Linked DNA regions of Homo sapiens: region 2 is linked to region 1. The links are contacts of gene promoters, found by promoter capture Hi-C in blood cells and fetal thymus (Javierre and others, 2016). All regions are on one chromosome and are shown on one strand. The core of a region is centred on a gene start or on the middle of the fragment in contact, and the rest is flanking DNA. Distances in the headings are between cores, read along the strand shown. Region 1 holds the start of RGCC (regulator of cell cycle). Region 2 overlaps DGKH (diacylglycerol kinase eta).

Region 1 (5,552 bases), core at 1,960-4,459:
TCCTTCCCTGGCTATTACGATACACATCGCAGGGGGGCGGGCGACGCTCGCGACGCGGGGAGAAATATCAGCCCCTCCTGACATTACAAGCCACATGGCAGGGGATGGACACCCCCAGTGATGCGGGGAGTAATATCTACCCCCCCTTCCCCATGGATATTAGGAGCCACATCGAAGGCGTGTGGACAGCCCCCGCTGATGCGCAGAGTAATATCAACCTCCGTCCCTCCCTGCATGTTAGCAGCCACTGTGGACACACAGTGTATTTACGATATTTCCAGTAAGATTATCTTTTCTATTGAACCTTATGAACAAGATCACAGGGGGGTGTACACATCCTGCGATATTGGGGGTAATATCATTCTCTCCTCCACAGCATACTGGGAACAATATCACAGGGGCGTGTATTCCCCCTTTCTTATTGGGAGTCATATCATACTTGCCTTCCATATATTAAGAACAATATCAAAGGGGGGGGTGGACACTTTGACGATATTGGGAGTAACATCATTCTCTCTATCCCTGGATATTAGTAGCAATATCACAGGGGGATGTACATTTCTTGTGATATTGAGAGTAGTATTATTGTCTTCCCCACTGGATATTAAAAACAATACCACATGGGGTGTCAAACCACCTGCCAAATTTGAGGGAATCTTATCCTCTCCCCTGCACCCCCCGCGCCCCGGATATTACAGACAATAACACAGGGGTAATGTACACCCACTGCTTTATTGGGAGAAGCATCATCCTCTCCTCCCTTAGATATTAGGAACAATATCATGGGGAGGGGGTGTACTGCCTCGGCGATATTGGGAGGAAAATTATCCTCTCTTCCCCTGGATATTAGGAAGGGTATCAGAGGGGGGAGAGTGTACATTCCCTGTGATATTCAATGTAATCTTATCCTCTCCCTCCCAGGGTATTAAGAAAAATATTACAGGAGGGTGTACACCCCCTGCAATACTGAGAGTCATATCATCCTCTTTCGCTCTGGATATTAGGAACAATATCACAGGGTTGTGTACTCCCCCTGCGATATTGGGAGTAATATCATTCTCTCTCCCTGTGGATTTTAGGAAGAGTATTACAGGGCTGTGTACACCCCCTGCGCTATTGGGAGTAATATCATCCTCTCTCCCTCTGGATAGTAGGAAGAGTTTCATAGGGGTGTGTACACCCCCTGTGATATTGGGAGTAATATCATCCTGTCGCCCTGAGGAGAGAAGCCATTTCGCTACTGTCTCCTGTCTCTGAAGAGGAGGAGGAAGTAAAAGTTGGAAAACAACAGGAATGAAGTCAGTGTCAAGACCAGCCGGTGGCAATGAGGAGCCGGCCTGAGGTGAAACAATCAACCCCCGTGACTCTAAGTACATGTGCTCTCAATCCATCAAGACCCTTTCACGTGGAACCCCTTAAAGCTGTAAGCCCTTAAACGGGCCAGGAACTCTGTCTTCCTTCCGGGAGCTCGGCTCTTAAGACGCGAGTCTGCCGAAGCTCCCAGCGGAATAAAAAAAACTCTTCCTTCTTTAATCCGCTGTCTGAGGGGTTTTGTCCGCTGCTCATCCATGCTCCATTTCTTTGTTCCCTGACCGGGAATCGAACGCAGGCAGCAGCGGTGAGAGCACCGAATCCTAAGCACTAGACCACCAGGGGAACTTAGAACCTTGTGGGAAATAGATTGCGCACCATTAGAAGTGGGTTGGCCATCAGAAGGAAGCCTGGACAGGTCCCTTGTTTCTAAGGCGTGGCACAAGGTAACTGGTAAAGATACCTAGACCAGTTCCCATACATAGACACTTGGTGACAGCTGGTGCTAGAACCCCCACAGTGGCTGAGGGCATGCAGCAGCAATACTAGTAGCAAAGGGACAGATAGCTAAGGAAGGATCCCGCTCCACTCACCCAGGGAAATCAACTCCTGAAGTTCTGTTCGACCCCACATCAGAGGATCCATTGCAGGAGATGGCACCAGAGATCCCAGTGGTGTCCTCCCCTTAACAGGGAAAGAGGCTCCCCACTCTTGAGCCCACAGTGCTTGTGCCTCCACAAGACAAGCATATCCCTAGGCCACCCAGAGTAGACAAGAGAGGAGGACTATTCATATGATTAGTGGTCATTAACATATACTCCTTTGTGAGGTGTATGTTTCAATGTTTTGCTCATTTTTAATTTTTACCAGGTTGTCTATTTGTGATTACTTTGTAGATGGGTCTTTCTATATTCTGAAAACAAATCCTGGCTGGGTGCGGTGGCTCACGCCTGTAATCCCAGCACTTTGGGAGGCTGAGGTGGGCAGATCACCTGAGGTCGGGAGTTCGAGACCAGCCTGGCCAACATGGACAAACCCCGTCTCTGCTAAAAATACAAAAACTAGCTGGGAGTGGAGGCTGAATGTTTCACTCCGTTACATGTTAATTGCTCTACATTTAATTAGCCGTCTGTGGTGAGAGGCGAGAGGCTAGCGCCTAGCTCAGCGCACAGTCCAGGGCGTTCGCCCCCGCAGGCCGCGGGGCAGGGTGGCTCGTTACTCCGTGGACACTGCAAGGCGCCCTGTTCGCGCTGCGTCGACGCAGTAGTTTCTTCCCATAATAAACCCCTTCTAGATAAAGTCAGGCTGGCGGGAGCGCCCTGGACCGTAGTTCAGGCCCCCGCGCTCCGCGGTGGGAACAGTTCAGGACTCCCCCAACTCCTGCCCCTCTCGCCCCGACCCTCTCCACTCCGCCCGCCCACCATCTCGGAAGTCCCCTTGGGACAATGCGTAGGGGACCTCCGCGTCCCCGACACCCGACTGGGACACGGCCGCGGGCTCCTTCGTCCCTCACCGCCAGCCAGGGAGGCTCTGCATGCCCACGTCCACTTCACAGCCGAGGAAGCTGCGGCTCGCGGAGGTGCCTGGCACGCGGCGGGAAGCAGCAGAGCTCGCGCCCAGCAGTCAGCTCTGGTGACGCCGAGGACACCGCGTGGGCCGGGTTGTCAGGGCGCGGGGGCGAGAGGCGGGTAAATATTTGGGGCTGTAACCGGGGCTTCGGCGACTCCTCGTCACCGCGGTTCCAGGGCGGGCGCGTGGCGAGGGCGGTGCCTGGGGGCAGGGGCCTCCTCGGAGGGCGGCGGGGACAGACCCGTCGCCCCGGCTCCGCAGCCCCGCCCCGGCCCCGCCTCCGCTCCGGCCGCCGAAGGCTATAAGATCTAGGAACCCGAGCCGGTGGTAGGGCGGGCGCGGACCGTGCTGGGAGCGGCGCGGCTGGAGCGCAGCGCCGAAGGGACTGGCAGGGCTGAAGTGTGCGGGACAGCAAGCCCCCGAATAGCCCCGGCTGCCACCTCGCAGGACCCAAGGCCACGCGCGCCGGGCCCAGCTGAGCCGCCTCATGAAGCCGCCCGCGGCGCAGGGCAGCCCCGCGGCCGCCGCGGCCGCAGGTGAGTGCGGGGTCCGGGGTCCCCTTAAAGTCTCGGCTCTGCAGATGGCGGGTGAGAAAGGAGGGGCCCCGTGTCGTCCCTTCACACCCCCCACCCTTCCATCCTCCCCGGCGGGAACCTGTCCCCGGTCTTCCCGCGCGGGCGGCTGCAGCCTCCTTTCCGGCCCGGGCTGGCCCCCATGTCCCACCTTCCCTCCACCACCAGCTCCGCGCGCGCCCGGGGTTGGGGGGAGCGGCGGGGACAGGTAACCGGCAGCGCCTGGGGAGGAATCTGGCCGCGCCAAGTCGCTGGGTGACCCTGGGCCTGGCGAAGGCTCAGTTTTCTTGTCTGTAAAACGGACTTGGTAATAGAACGCACTTCGGGGGTGGTGGAGAAGATTACAAGGTAACAGCGACTGCGTGGCTGTCACTTGGCAGAGGCGCCAAGTGTCAGTTATCTTCGGGAACCGTGGCGGCCCCTCCTGGCCCTGGGAGGTGGTCCCGCTGCCCCCCTGACTTCCGTGCACTGAGCCCCTGGCCCTGCCCGCAGCCCCGGCCCTGGACTCGGCGGCCGCGGAGGACCTGTCGGACGCGCTGTGCGAGTTTGACGCGGTGCTGGCCGACTTCGCGTCGCCCTTCCACGAGCGCCACTTCCACTACGAGGAGCACCTGGAGCGCATGAAGCGGCGCAGCAGCGCCAGTGTCAGCGACAGCAGCGGCTTCAGCGACTCGGAGAGTAAGTGCGGCCCCCGCTAGGATGGCGCCGGGATCTCCCAGCTCCCAGGACCTGCCCCGCGAAGGCTGCGGCCTCAGTTTTCTTATCAGTAAACTGAGGAATGGTTTCCTGAAGCTCAACGCAGTAGGCCGAGTGGTGGCGGGGCCCCTGACGATAATCACGGGAAAGGTCGCTGGAGGGCAGGTTGGTTCACTTGCCGCCCACGGGTGTGTCACCAGGCAGGCGAGTTTAAGCAGCTTGTCCCGACTCAGCCAGACAGGACTCCCTGGACCTGCACCAGGCCTTTCCGCAGTTTCCCTCCTCTTCTCCTTTCCGTGCCTCTCCCCTCTCAGCTGTAACTTTGCAGATGTGGAACAAGTGCCAGTGGAATGAGGGGGCACAGTGGGGACATGGGAGGGCGCAGAACGGAAATATTCATGAAACCAGGAAAGGTTTCATAAGCCCAAACTGCTGTTCTTGGGATTTATGAAATAACTGCTTGCATTGTCTTCTGGCCCTTAGCTCTCAGACTTGTTGCTCCATTGCATGCAGTTATGAAAATCTTTGGCACTGCTGAGTTCAAGTATTTTTCAGCCAGGTCCTCCACCAGGCTGGAGGGGGAGCCAGAGAGCACATGGGCATGAAGGTGGTTCCTGGTGATCTTTCTCACAATGGAGACTACCCCAGGGTCTCTTTGTCCTGAACAACTTTGTCAACAACAGCAACAACAACAAAAACAACAAAAGAGACAGCTTTTTCCAGGAACTCACATGTCCTGGGAGGATTACAGGTACCTCAAACAGCAAATTAGGTGCCTTTTTAATATTACATGATTGTTGGTTTCAAATCCAGAATTGCTTATTGTTTTTCAAAGGGCAAAGTCAATTTTAAACTCTTCTGTGTTATTCTTCAGCCTTTAATCCTTAGATGGGTTACAGGCATGAATGTCACTCCTTTTGCTGCCCTTGACTCAGGACGTGAAAGTAATGGCCTTTCCGTGTGATTCTCTTATTTTGAAACCTGGAGCTCTTCCTTGTTCCTGGGCTAAGATTCGGGGCTAGACATGAACATGAGCTGCCCTTCTGCAAAGGGATAAATGCGCTCACCACCCTGGTCAGGGTTTGACTCAGGAAGCTGAGTTCCAGCTTGTTTCCTTGGCAGCACTGCCAAAGAGTTAGACCAAGCTGCAGCTTTTGAGGTGAAAGGGGATGGAAGAAAGTACTGTTACTTTTCCACTTAGAATTTTTGGACTTTGTTCTTAATGAATAGGTTCATTTTCAATTTCAAAGCAAAGTGTTAACATTTTTGAAATTTGTCTCAATTCTAAAGGCCAAACTTAAATATGTCTCCTCCTACTGGGGCATGGAGCAAGTTATTCATCAAATACAGATTCTCGCATGGAAAAGAAAGCTAGGATAGTGTGTCGCTGCTGCTCTGTGGCAA
Region 2 (5,552 bases), core at 1,227-3,726, 660 kb after region 1:
GCTGTGGGTATACCAAGGATGTGATAGTGGCCAGAGCTTTGAAGGAGGATGGGATGGGGTGGGAGGTTTAGAAGAGGCAGTGGAGGACGATATTGAGTAGAAGGGAGAGCTGGTGAAAAAGCTTGGACACAGGGAAGCATGGTGTATTTGGGGATTACCAAGTACTTCTCTTTTACTTTACTATTAGGGGAACTTAGGAGGATTGCTGAAGATGGGGCTGTTAAGGAAGGTGGGGCACTTATGGACAAAAGAGTCTTGTATGACCAGCTAAGAGGTCTGGAATTATGCGGGTGATGGGTACACCTTGAACATATTGAACCAGAGTTTGGCAGTTTTTCAGAGATAATTTTGTCCACAGTGGAAGGAATGGACTAGTGGTGGGAAAAATTGATAGCATGGAGAGCACCTAGTAAACTATTGAGTCCAAGAGAATTAGAGGAGCCCAAACTAAGGCAATAGCAAGAGGAGTGGAAAGGGATGGATTTAAGGAACAAAAACTTTTCCATAATAAATAATGCTTAGGATGAGGACTGTTATGATGATAATATCTTGACATGCCATGTTTTTAAAGAATTATATATTATTTTGAATCCATTGCCTCACATATCATCATAGCACATAGTGATATGCAGGCATTATTTCCATTTCAGAGGTGTAAGTCTGTTAACTATAGAGGCTTAGTTTGACCATTAAAGATAGTCAGATAGATTCATGATGTTACAGGTTTTGTACAGACACCCAAGAAAGCCTAACACAGCTTTCCTGGAATTTATATGACAAATGAATAAGGAAATATATAGGCCAAAGAAAAATTGTTTGAGAGGACACAATAGATAGTAGTTAGAAGAGACAGGAAAGAAGTGACACAAATAAAATGTAGAGTGTTGAAATCTCCCCTGATCCATCTCTCCCATGACGCCAAATTCCATTCCTTAGATGAGAAGTGGAGGTCATGCTGGGACATGACTGGTAGAAGCTAGAGGTTCTTCTGGAATTCTTGAAGGCATCTGTAAAAGACATGCATCCTCACTGACCTTTGCACTTTACACACCTGTTTAACACTCCTCTAAAAGCCAGCATCGCATATGAAAGTGTATACCTACTGGATAAATCAGGCAGTGCCTGATTTTTCAAGGATTCTTAGCTTTACAAAAGGCTCATCGAAGGGCTGTTTTTAAAGTTGCATTCTCCTTGGGGCATTAAAGTGGTTTTCCATCTAAGGAGCTTCCACTTGTGACACAGAGGCGTTTCTGAAAATTTAGGTGACATCCTGGAGCATCCATGTGTGTATATAATTTAAAAGAGAAATTACTTTTATTTTCTTTAAGCAAAGGGCATGAAATGAGCAATTCTGCAGCTTTAAGACATTGGACTAAAAACAGTTACAGAAAGCCAGCTATATAAAAATTTATTCAACTTGTAATGCTTTTATTTTTGGAAAACGATTTTTCAAAGTCAGGTTCATTGATCTTTTTGCTTTTAATTTTTTTAAACTAGGTTATTGGATTCCAGTTGGAGTCTATATGGCTTTACTGATTTTCCATGAGGGTCAGGTAGTACTAAACCATTAACTGCCAGATTATATGACTAAATGGCAGTTAATACAAATGTTTCTAAGCCCTTTTTGGGAGGAGGGGGGAGTTAATGCCTCATCCTAGAATTTGTGAACAAAGTAAAACTAAAACATACTTGCTTTTAACAGATTCTTAACCATAACTCTGATTATAACTATTTCTTATATTTGTTACTAACTTTGTTATTTTGGTTGAACATTAATATCGAATATAATAGCATGATTTTTAAAAAATGAATCTTTGTTTCTTCACTTGGTATACTCATTATTTTGAAATATTTGGAGCCACTTGCTTTTTTCTTAACCACACTTTGATTGTATGATTATATTTGCTAGAGCTGTTACAAATTAATCACTTTTTGGTTATGCTTGTTCTTTTATGAGAAGCGTCTGTTTAGCCGTACATAAACAGAAGTTTATTTTGAGGATTAACTTTCACGTGAATAACTGCCTCCCAGCTAAATCTTTTTAATCATATCTTTTAGAGGAAGGCAAGAATGTTTTTTCCTTTTCTTTTTTTTCTTCAAGAATTTAAAATTAGCTGTTTGTATATTGTAACATAGAGAGGTTTGTAGCTTCGTGAAGGCAAGGACTATATTTTATACATCTTTATATATACACCACAGCCTCACACATCACAGGAGATTAATACATGCTTATGTAAGATTTGAAGAATGTAATAATTCTATAGAAAAAACATAAATTATTTGCTTTGAAAATGACTCTATAAGGAACATCTCTAAATGCACAATATTCTCATAAAAAATCAGGATAGACATTTTCTGCCCCTCCAGAGGTATACCTTTGAGCGTTGTGTCCATTTTCATACACGTGAAAAGAAACAGCCTGAAATCTGCTGAACCCTGGAAACCATAAAGGCATTTCCGGCCAGGCGTGGTGGCTCACACCTGTAATCCCAGCACTTTGGGAGGCCGAGACAGGCGGATCACGAGGTCAGGAGATGGAGACCATCTTGGCTAACATGGTGAAACCCCGTCTCTACCAAAAAGACAAAAAATTAGCCGGGCGTGTTGGCGGGCGCCTGTAGTCCCAGCTACTCGGGAGGCTGAGGCAGGAGAATGGCATGAACCCGGGAGGCGGAGCTTGCAGTGAGCCCAGGTCGCACCACTGCACTCCAGCCTGGGCAAGAGAGAGAGACTCCGTCTCAAAAAAAAAAGCATTTCCAGCCTGTGTTTCTTGTTTACTCATTGATACCATTTCCCCTCAATCAGGGGCCCAGCGCTTTCCCGTTTTCTAATTTTTTGTCTTTGTTTTAAAATACACAGTTACCTTACATACCATTGTATACTGTTGGTAAAAGTTGTTTAGGTCAACTCAACCAACATTTATTTATGGAGGCCCTATGATGTGTTACCTAATGCCATGGATGGTGATGTTACAAAAATGGGTAGGTTGCTGTCTTTGCCCTCTTAAAGGCCGCGACCTGGTGGGACCATAAATATGTGGATGGACACTGTTCAGTGTCATAGGTGCTGTTACACAGACAGGATAAGGATGTATTAGAGACCCGAAGGTGGGAGTGGTGGCTTCTTCCTACCCCTACGGGGTCAAGGACGCCTTCCCAGGGCTAATGGTGCTGGATGAATGTTGAGATGAATAGATTTCAAGACAGACAAGTGGAGCAGAGGATATTTAGGGCAGAGGAAGGAGCTTAGGAGGGGTAGGCCACGCATTTGGAGGGCTGTGTAGGGGCCTTCTATGGTACATGTAGGAGCTTGGACTTTATGTAGCAGGCAGAAGAGAACTAATGAAGGGCTTGAAGCGGTGGCGTAATTTAACTAGATTTTCATTTTAGAAAATTACACGCAAAACCATGGGAGAATGAAGTAGGTTATTTACATTTCCTTAAAACAGTACTTTTAGAACATAAATAGACCAAACATTAACTTTTCTTCCCCATTGCCTTAAACAGAACTTTACAAAAATCCGAATACACCCACTTCTGCCATTTGAATTTCCAAATGATTTATTCTTTGGCCAAGATGTATTTTTATAGCACTTTAATGTTCTGTGTTTGGGTTTAGGAATTATGGGCTGCCTACCTTGGGTGACACCAGATGCTACGGTGATGCAGCTCATCATATAACTCTCCGGAATCCCCCTTGGCAGTGGCTGCAGGCTTCCCGTATTTCTCCTCAAAGCATCTTGAAATAGGACTGTATTGAATGGGCATGACTGGACTGCATATTTTAGGCATTTTCAGGAAAAGAAATAAAGAATTTGTATGTGAATGAATCTGAGCAAGCATCTGAAAGAAGAGGAATGGATTTAGAGTAACAAAAGACTAGCATGATGTCACATGACAAAGTTCAGAGACGCTCCTCTTAGCCGAGGTGGCTTCCCATGGTGTTACTGGTCATCTGCACTCTGGTCCAAAAAGCAGTCCTGTGGTCAGTGCTAGGCCATAAGTCTTCAGTTCTGAACACGGTGAGATGGCTCTTCCATGACATTCAGTGTAGTTTCTTTCTCCTTCTCTCACTAACTTTGTTAGACTAGAAGCTACATTATCCTCTTAAAAGTTTTTAGCTCTTATCCCAAGGACTTTCTGGGATATTTAAGAGTGTTGTAATCTCTTCTTTTTAAAAAAATTATTTACATTATGGTAAAAATTTTATAACAAAAATTTTATAACAGAATTTACTATCTTAATCATTTCTAAATGTGCATTTCAGTAGCTTTAAGTATATTCACATTGTTTTGCCATGTAATCTGTATGTTTTTAAATGAATACTTCATATTCCTTTCTCATCAAGTTAATGATTATTTAACATACTATCAAGTCTTGATTTTTATACCTCTTATTTTTTGCACATTCTCTTTTTAATCATAAATGCTGAATCAATGTTATTTTTTTGAAGAATAACTCTCTTAAATACTGATAATACAAACTTTGATACTTCCTTTCTACTGTGGTTATATTTTCCCCATATTATCTTTTGACCTCTCTCTATGGCAGTGTCCTTTTATGAGTCACAAGTGCACACTTTATGCAGCAGTGAACCATGAAACTGGATAGGACATTAAAGACTCTGAACCGTTGTTTGGTTATTTCAGGTTATTGAGGTGTGGGTGCTAATTGAGCTTTCCTAGTCTAAAGTGAAAATAATATGTTACCCAGAGGTTCCACATCTCCAATCTTGGTTTGAAAATAAACTAGGACTGAAAACATGGAATGAAAATATATTCTTTTGTGTTTTGAAGGAATGAATATTTGAATTCAAATTAATTTTTCTTAGGGTAAGCTTTTCATTTTTATAAAATAATGTTTAATCATCTTGGGAAGAACAACTATGTAGTATATCTTCAAAAATAAAATTTTCAAATTGAATAAATAAGTATATTTCAAACTTTCGAATTAGGAAATGCCTGTATATTTTAGGATTTGTTTGGTTATATAATTATTAACTACTGCTGAAAATGCAACAGAAAATTGGAACTCAAAATTTTTCAGTTATTGCTCTCTAACCTCAAGTAATATCAAATTACGCTGTTTCAAATGGTATAGGAGACCATTAAGCTAACTGAAGACAAAGTTTAAAAGAATTATTATTTGTTACCCATAACCATATTAAGGATATGATTTATTTAAAAAACAACAACCAAAAAACTAATCCAATTATTTAAAAAACAACCACCAAAACACTAATCCAATTTACTGTTATATGGAGGCTGTAATTTTTAGTTATGGTAGATCTCGAAAGTTCATGAACCCTCTAAAATTGTATGTAATTTTTAGTGTGTATATTGTGTGTGTATGTGCGCACATGCAGGCATGTTTCTGGAGAGATAGTATTCACAACTTTCAACAGATTCTGAAAAGGCATCTTGATCCAACCAAAGTTATGAACCACTGTCACAGAGGTTACTTTGCCCATTTTCCTTTTTACTTACAGACCCCAACCCACAACTAGATTTTGTTCCAGAAGTAGTTTGTTTATGAACTGGTTGTTTGGAACTT

Evidence for each region. Contacts are between HindIII fragments. The CHiCAGO score rates a contact against its expected background, and 5 or more counts as called.
Region 2: a fragment that was not itself captured here is called in contact with the fragment with the promoter of RGCC in region 1 in 1 of 17 cell types (erythroblasts); the score reaches 5.6 in erythroblasts.

The regions. Positions count from the first base shown.
Region 1 is chr13:41,454,341-41,459,892 of GRCh38, forward strand. RGCC (regulator of cell cycle) reads left to right here and starts at 3,210. Exons shown (of 5, transcript NM_014059.3): 1 at 3,210-3,416; 2 at 3,945-4,130. The coding sequence starts at 3,368. RefSeq lists a silencer at 2,983-3,822 and enhancers at 3,396-4,073, 4,123-4,252. The HindIII fragment of the contact is 26,753 bases long and covers 1-5,552 here.
Region 2 is chr13:42,115,477-42,121,028 of GRCh38, forward strand. The region is part of intron 1 of DGKH (diacylglycerol kinase eta); the gene reads left to right. Among named protein-coding and RNA genes, the nearest start is that of DGKH, 70 kb to the left of the region's middle. The HindIII fragment of the contact is 4,715 bases long and covers 120-4,834 here.